3 separate regions of the Homo sapiens genome follow, and regions 1 and 3 are each linked to region 2. Evidence: promoter capture Hi-C in human tissues and cell types (Jung and others, 2019). All regions are on one chromosome and are shown on one strand. Each heading gives the region's core, a stretch centred on a gene start or on the middle of the fragment in contact. The rest is flanking DNA. Distances are from core to core; before and after follow the strand shown. Region 1 has its middle 45 kb from the start of CASZ1. Region 2 holds the start of CASZ1 (castor zinc finger 1). Region 3 overlaps CASZ1 (castor zinc finger 1).

Region 1 (2,700 bases), core at 139-2,638, 45 kb before region 2:
ACAAGGTGGTTCCAAGAATGTGGCATTTGAGCAGACCTTGAGGGAGGCGAGGGAACCAGCTGCATGGGGACCTGGACAAGGGATTCCAGGCAGAGGGAGCAGCCTGGGGCTCCTAGGGCCCCATAAGCAGTGACCGGTATGAGCCACCATGATGAGCCACTGGCTCGCCAGTCTCTGCCTGCGGAACTGGGCCCCAGGAGCCCAGAAACAAGTGCTCAGCTTTGATTTCTGCCCTGAAAAGAGACCATGCCTGCTGTGTTCAAGGAGGAGCAGAGGCCAGCCAGGGTCACGGGGGTGAGCTGGGAGGAGGGTAGAGACGAGGTCAGTGAGGTTGGGCTTTGTGGTCAATGCAAGGACTTTGACTTCTACAATGAGTGACACAGAAGTTATTGGAGGGCCCTGAGAAGAGAAGCAGGATCATCTGAGTTAGGTTCTAGAGGGTCCACTCTGGACTGTAGGGGGTAAGATTGGAAGTAGGGAGACATAAGGAGGCCCCTGCAATCACTCAAAGGAGAAATGATGGAGACTCAGACGGGGCCGCATCAGTGGGGAGGATGAGCAGTGGTTGCATCCTGGGTACCTTCTGAAAGGAGCGACACCAGGATTTGCCTACATTTGGATGTAGGGTAGAGAGAAAGGGAAGTAAAAGGAGAGTCTAAAGGTTTTGACCTGAGCAGTTAGAGGAATTGAGCTGCACTTATAAGAAGGGCAGGCTTGGCCAGGCACTGTGGCTCACGCCTGTAATCCCAGCAGTTTGGGAGGCCAAGGAGGGCAGATCACTTGAGGTCAGGAGTTCAAACCAGCCTGGCCAACATGGCAAAACCCCATTTCTACTAAAAATACAAAAATTACCTGGGTGTGGTGGCAGGTGCCTGTAATCCCAGCTACTTGGGAGGCTGAGGCAGGAGAAGCGCTTGAACCCGGGAGGCGGAGATTGCAGTGAGCCAAGATTGCACCACTGCACTCCAGCCTGGGCAACAGAGCGAGACTCCATCTCAAAAAAAAAGAAAAAGGGCAGGCTTGGTGATGAGCAGGTGTAGGGTGGGGTGGGGCAGGGCTGAGGGGCATCAAATACACAGCCGTCTCCTCCTGCCACAGTGGGCCACCCCACTCTTTCTCAATGATCTTAGATGCACCCCGAGAATTCTCCACACAGTGCATATAGTAGGTCCATCATAGTTCCATTAGGAGGCAGCAAGGTGAGAGTTTGAGCTTGGGAGTGCTGATTCCCTGGACTCACATCCTGGCCCCACCACTAAGTAGCTTATGTCTTCAGGCAAGTGGCGTCATTACTGGGGGCCTCTGTTTCTCATTTGTTGAATGTTTCTGCGTTTCCTAGCTCCCTACTGTATTAAATGGGGTCATACTCGGCATTTATCTCATTGGGGTTTTGTGAAGACTTAGATGAAGAAGATGTATGGAAAGGCCCACACACGGTGCCTGAAACACAGGAAGCGTCCTATAAACGGTGACCGGTACACTCCACCCCAGGTCCTACTGGTTCACCCGTCTTTGTCTGAGGAAGAGAACTTCATGGCCCCAGGAACCCAGAAACAAGAGCTCAGGTTTGATTTCTGCCCTGTGAATGCCTAACCAGAGTTCTGGAGAATGCTGCATGGACCCAGATGAAAACGCTCTCATTTTTGGACAGAGTGGGCAGTCGCTGAAATATAAGAAGTCCCTGTTGAAAAACGTCCCTGCTGTGAGCACTGCTGGGTGGATTAGCTGGCATTCCTTCTCCTCCATTGAGCGGAGTCGCAAGCTAATAAATATTTCAGAATTGGCTGTATTCAATCCAGCCCTTGTCCCGTTTGACGTCTGTTCTCTCAGCTTTCAGGAGACAGGTGCAGAAGGATGAAAAGGGATTTAATTACTAAACATCCCCAACTCCCGATATGCAAACACATGCTGTACTGTACACACACCTACTGCGCACAGTCACGCACACCCCCTGCACTCACACACGTGTGCAGATACAGCCCGGGGCACACATGTACCCACGGGACCCTCTGGACACCCACTCTACTCTAGTAGTGACCTCTCTACTGTATCGGGGAGATCTCCCATGCATGCCTGCACACAGCTTGCACAGGAGTCCCACAGGAGTCCCATGGGCAAACGATACATGGGAACACACATGTGCCCCTGTGTATGCAATAGCCTTGGTTGTTAACATGAGCATGTTTACAGTCAATGTGCGTGGAAGGTACATGTACATGTGCATTTATTTTATTTATTTATTTATTTTTTGAGACAGAGTCTCGCTCTGTCGCCCAGGCTGGAGTGCAGTGGCGTGATCTCGGCTCACTGCAAGCTCCACCTCCTGGGTTCATGCCATTCTCCTGCCTCAGCCTCCCAAGTAGCTGGGGCTACAGGTGCCCACCACCAGGCCTGGCTAATTTTTTTTTGTATTTTTAGTAGAGATGGGATTTCACCATGTTAGCCAGGATGGTTTCAATCTCCTGACCTTGCGATTCGCCCACCTCGGCCTCCCAAAGTGCTGGGATTACAGGTGTGAGCCACCATGCCCGGCCTACATGTGCATTTATAACATGTGCACACACAGATATGCATACACTCAATAATACAGTCACACAGATGTTCACGTCTCCACATACATGTGTGTAATGTGTTTCTGAAGAGAGGACATTTCAAAAGCCCTATTGTTGTCAAGCCATGCTGTTCACTCTAGGGGGAGGT
Region 2 (2,774 bases), core at 230-2,729:
CATATGCTTCTGGACAATTAACTTCCAGTTTAAGGCAGGACATGGGAATGCATCCCGGAAGATGCTTGTCTTAGACAATCATCATACAGGGTTTTGGGTCGTTTCTCTGGTCCTGAGAGGCTTTCCTGACACCTTGCAGATTAGGCTCCAAATACTACCAGCCTGCAACAATGTTTACCAGCCTGTGGCATTGCCTCTTAGTTTAATGCATTCTGTTGAGCAGGGCTTGAAGCTGTGGGTCATACTTTGAATTTATATTCATTTATTCCACAAATCATTGATCTATTTCGTTTACTGTTATGGTCAGTTTCTCACTTATCTCATCATCTGGGTGTTTTCAGTTTCTTTCATGCCTCTCGATATTTCCATCCCACGCTTATGCTGAAGGGAAAAGCAGCTCAGGCCTGGAATGAGGGGTGCGCTTGCTGAGAAAGGCAAGACCAGAGCTACAGGGCCTCAGCACTGAAGCTGACTACTAGGCTCAGCTGGTGTGGCCACCTCAAACCAACTGGGAAATGGGAAGTCTGGGTATGGGAGAAAAGGGGGTTTCTTCAATAAAGTATGAAAGTGCCCCTCAAAAGGCCCTTCCCCCCCATCTGGGGGCAAGGGGATTATCTCTCGCAAGACACTGCTTTGTTTTGTTTTGTCAGAAATGAGGTCTAGCTATGTTGCCCAAGCTGGTCTCGAACTCCTGGGCTCAACCGATGCTCCTGCCTCGGCCTCCCAAAGTGCTGGGATTACAGGCGTAAACCACCATGCCGGCCCCCAAGACACTTTTTAGCCTATTGCCTTGGTTTATTTTCTTCATGGATACTTTCACTCTCTGAAATAACATTATCCACTTGTTTTAATGTGTATTATCTGCCCCCCCCCCAGCCCCTCCATGTAAGGTTCATTCTGCACGGCCTATCTTGCTCACTTAAGGATTTATTTCTTGCACAATAGATTGAATGAAAAACTCCCTTGCAAAGAATAAGTGCAAAGCAGATATCAAACAGTGAGAACATTTCGTTCCTTTGGGTTCCACAGTTCTAACATTCTAACTTGCAAAAAAGAGCCAGTTCTTCTGTCGAAAGTGGGAACCGAACTCGGGCTCTCTCGGGGTTCAGAACAGGTGGAAAGTAACCCCCCCCCCCATCCCTTCTCTCTTTTCCCCTAGCCTCAACTCAACTCAGCTGGGGGGGGGTGTAGAAGCCTCTGGACCTGCAAAAGGGGGCCGAGCGCTCAGATGCTCCTCCGCAGGCCGTGCGACTCGCCGCGCGCACACGCTGAGCTCAGCCCGGGCGGTGGGTGGGAAGGATCCGGGAGGGGCAGGTCTGGGGGTGTGAGGGTGGAGCGGAGCCCGGCCCCGCGATCCGGCCCGGGTTTTGCATGCCACCCACTCGCCCGCCCGGCCGCGGAGAATTCCATAATCACAGCGGGCGAGAGCGGAGACTGGGAGCGAAAAATCCGGGATCCGGCAACTTTGGGCAGCGCATGCGCGCCCGCGGCGCTCCATCCCAAACACACACACATTTTTCCCCCGGACTTGGAAAGTCACCCAAAGCCGCCCCAAGTGCAGGTAAGAGACTCGGCGCTCCCTCCGCCGCGGCCCCCCCACGTCCCCCAGCTCCGCGGGCCTCCCGGGGCGCCTCCCCGTCTCTCCCCCTGTCCCGGTGCACCCCCCCCACCCCCGGGGCTGCCGCTTGCAGCAGGGAGCGGGCGAGCGAGCGAGCGAGCGAGCCAGCCAGCCAGCCTGCGATCGGCGGCTGCCACCCAACTCCGGCCGTGCGGAGGCAGGGGGCACGGAGGGCTGGCACCCGGGCGCGGGGCGGCGCGTTGCCTGCCGTGGCCAGGGGAATGCCCGGCGCGCGGCTCCGGGGGAGGGGAGGGCTGCTCCTCCTGGGGGTCGCTTACTCCAACTGAGGGGGTGGCGGGGTAGGGGAGAAGAGAGGGAGGTGCCAGGCGCGAGCACAGGACTTTGCAAATAGGGTGGGGGCGCCCCACGCGCTGTGGGCTCCCGGGGGGGCAGGTGATCTCCAATACCGGGTAATCACTCCTTCCCCTTAAACCCCCACCCCACCCCACCCCCCAGCAGCAGAGGGGTCGTGCGCTCTCCAGGGCAGAGAAGGAGGCGGGGTGAGGGGTGCCTGGGGTGACTTTGCAAGACTTTGCCCATGGGAAGGGGTGGGTGGGGAACCCCTCCAGCCGGCTCTTGTGCCCGGATACCGGGTGTAGGTGCTGCCAGCAGAGGTAGGCAGTGTTCGCTTAGGCGCGGGGTGCCAAAGGGTATCCCCCATAGGAAATCGAAGGCAAGAGATTTCTTAGATGGGGGGAGCGGCGCCCCCTTTTTCATCTGTGCCTGGGAAGTTTATCTCAAGTGCGCTGCTCCAGGCGCGGCAAGTGGCGTTCCTCACTCCCTTCCCCACCCCACCCCCTGCCTCCCCAGCTGAAGGGCTGGCAACACAGGGCACGGGGAGCCGGGGCATCGGCCCAGAGCTGCCCGGCTGTCGGCTGGAGCCCGCCTGGGTCCCGGGGAAAGTTCGGGCGAGTTGTTGCCGGCTGTTGTGTGCGCCAGAAGAGAAGTTGCGCCCGGGGACGTGGGACGCTGGGCTGGCGGGCTAGCGGGCTGGTAGAGTGGTGCGCTCCGGGGGGGCTCTGCAGCGTGGGAGAGGGTCGGTCGGGGTCTGTTCCCCCAGGGTGGGCTGAGGGTGACCTCGGAGCTCAACAATTGGGGAGGAGGAGCCCTGAATCCAAGGGCACAGGGCTGAAATAGGCACCTGGTGAAGGACAGA
Region 3 (2,755 bases), core at 60-2,559, 43 kb after region 2:
CACCCCTCCAAAGACCCTGGAAATGCATCCTAGTGAAAATGCTTAGGACGAGGGTGTGAGGAGCACCTGGTTTAGGGGGCAGGACTGAGGAAGCCTGGGGTCCAGTAGGGTCAGGGGAGAGGAACTGGATGCTTGAGGAGCCCACTGGGTTGGGCCAGGGCTCAGCCTCAGGGGTTCAGAGCCGGAAGAGGTGGTGGTCCAAGTCCTGACCTGTCACCTCTGGCTATTCATTTTCCATTTCCATTCAGCGACACTGTGGGTAGTCATTGTAGGTGCTCGAAATGAAGAAGAGGCCAACGTCCTGCCCTCATGAGGTTTACATTCGGATGGAGGGAGCCAAATGATACAGGAGAAAAAGGAATAAAGGATGTGCTGGATGGCGATGCGTGGGAAGGAGAAAACAAGAGCCTCTTTGCAGACTAGAATAGGGAGTGAGAGGCAGGTGGATGGATGGTTTGTCATTTTAGATGTGGCTCCCAGGGAAGGGGTCACTGCGATGGTGACATTTGGGTGAAGACAGAAAGGAAGTGAGGGAGTGAGCCAACCTAATCGATATCTGTAGGAAGAGCATTCATAGCAGGTGTGAGATCCCAGAGGCGTGTTGGAGAAGCAAGGAGACCAGCGTGGCTAGAGCAGAGTGAGGGGCAGATGCCATCTGAAGTCGAGGGGGTCAGGGTGGGGGGCCCTCAGATCCCGTAGGCCTTGCAGGCCATTGTGAGAACTCTGGCTTTTACCCAGAGTGAAATAAGAAGCTTTTTGAAGAGTTCTGAGTGCCATGATCTGATTAGGAACAAGCTCTTTATTAAAAAACAAGACCCACCTGTCACCGACTCCGCCTCTCACAGGTCGCATATGTGCCCGGATCGCCCTTCTTGAATGCACTCTCTCGATGTTTCATCTGGGAGCGGGCAGAGAGGGCACAGAGGGGTCTGTCTGGAACTTGCCCTGCTCTAGCCTGGGCCTCCTTTCCCCGGTCCTTCTGGGGAGCCGCTCAGAAACAGGGTCTTGTCACTTTAAGCAGACCCCCACCCGCCTCCCTGGCCTGCTTTATCTGAAGTCCAAGCGCATGTTGTTCCAGGACCGATCCGCTTTAGCTAATTAATAATCTGACAGGAGCCACCCAGGGGATTAGCCGTTGAGCTGAGCTCCACCAAGCCCCAGCAAATGAGCCCTGTGCTCCTTGGGGACATGGAGGTGACTTTGCGGGGTGCAGTGAGAGGGGACCCCCGCAGGTGAGCTGTGGTATTGGACAGTGCAGCAGTGACGGGTGAGGGAGGAGGCTGGGCAGGGCAGAAAGTGATGAGAAGAGCCTCTTGAAAAGAATCTGCTGTCCTGAGACGGACAGGGACCTCCACTCCCCCTCACTGCCTCTTCTGTCCTGCTCACCCCGTAGGAACTGTACCCCCCTGCCGGGGGCTACCTGCTGAGTCATCAGGACGGGGCTGCCAGAGTTAGCAAATAAAAATACAGGATACCTAGTACATTTAAATTTCACACAAATAGCACGGACTTTTTAGTATAAGTATATTCCATGCAATGTTTGGGACATACTTATATGAAAATAGTATTCATTGTTTTTTGTTTTGTTTTGTTTTGTTTTTTGAGATGGAGTTTTGGTCTTGCTGCCCAGGCTGGAGTGCAATGGCACAATCTCGGCTTGCTGCAACCTCCGCCTCTCAGGTTCAAGTGAGTCTCTTTCCTCAGCCTCCCCAGTAGCTGGGATTACAGGTACCCGCCACCACACCCAGCTAATTTTTTGTATTTTTGGTAGAGTCGGGGTTTCACCATGTTGGCCAGGCTGGTCTCGAACTCCTGACCTCAGGTGATCCACCCACCTTGGCCTCCCAAAGTGCTGGAATTACAGGCGTGAGCCACGGCACCTGGCCGTATTCATTGTTTATTAGAAATTCACATTTCACTGGGCATACTGTATTTTCTCTGGCAGCCCTAAGCAGGGAGGGCTGGCAACTAGGGGGGCTCCCTCTCCAGGGCAGCTGGGACCTCCTTCTGGAAGAGCCAGCACTCCCTGGGGAGCTGCCTGGGGACTTTGCAAGCAAGGCAGGGCTGGGGTCACGATGACCTCCACTCCCACAGTACAGGGAGAGGAGGATGGAGGCAAACGCCGGCCACTTGCTGGAGTCTCCCAACCTGTATTTGGGCCCAGGTGGCCCTTGGGTGAATCGAGTCTAAGTCCCCACAGGGACATCTGTGGCCACCAGGCTGGGGAGCAATTCCCCAGGACCGCCTTCCCTGGTGAGGCTGCTATCTAGGAATAGTCTAGGGGCCTCTCCAGAGGAGGCCACCTGAAGTTTCTGGGGTAATTTGGAAAGATGACCATCCGCTAAGGGCATCTGTTCTGAGCCCAGGGAGAGGTGGGCAGGGATGGCCCACTGTGTAGGAGGGGCTGGACCAGGCCAGGCACAAGGTCAGGGACGACAGCCTGCTATGCAGGGCCACCTCTGTGTTCCAGGACCTTTGGGCACTGAGCAAGAATCCCCGTCTGCTGCCCTCTCCATGCCCACCCCAACTGGGCAGCCCGTGCTAGCTCCTTGGGGAGGGTGTGCCCTGCAGGGTGCTGGCCTGCCTGGGCTGTCACTGCGGGCAGGGAGGGGAGGGCCAGTCTGGAGTGGAAAGCTTGATGGGGTCCTTACTGCTCCCTCTGGTGACCCCTCACATCCTAGATCCGTTCCTGTGGACAGAGAGCTTAGGGCTGCCAGCTGGTGGAGGTCCAGCCTCCTGCAGCCAAGGAGCTTGA

The links. The method cuts DNA at HindIII sites, captures the fragments that hold promoters and counts their contacts. A contact is called where the count stands out against the background at its distance.
Region 1: a contact is called between a fragment that was not itself captured here and the fragment with the promoter of CASZ1 in region 2, in 2 of the 25 tissues and cell types used here (liver and neural progenitor cells).
Region 3: a fragment that was not itself captured here is called in contact with the fragment with the promoter of CASZ1 in region 2 in 9 of the 25 tissues and cell types used here (H1 embryonic stem cells, IMR-90 fibroblasts, dorsolateral prefrontal cortex and 6 more).

What each region holds. Positions count from the first base shown.
Region 1 is chr1:10,840,449-10,843,148 of GRCh38, reverse strand. No RefSeq gene overlaps it. Among named protein-coding and RNA genes, the nearest start is that of CASZ1, 45 kb to the right of the region's middle. The HindIII fragment of the contact is 8,199 bases long and covers 1-2,700 here.
Region 2 is chr1:10,795,351-10,798,124 of GRCh38, reverse strand. It overlaps CASZ1 (castor zinc finger 1), which reads left to right and starts at 1,479. Exons shown (of 21, transcript NM_001079843.3): 1 at 1,479-1,561. The HindIII fragment of the contact is 29,932 bases long and covers 1-2,774 here.
Region 3 is chr1:10,751,885-10,754,639 of GRCh38, reverse strand. All of the region lies in intron 2 of CASZ1 (castor zinc finger 1), which reads left to right. Among named protein-coding and RNA genes, the nearest start is that of CASZ1, 43 kb to the left of the region's middle. The HindIII fragment of the contact is 6,133 bases long and covers 1-2,755 here.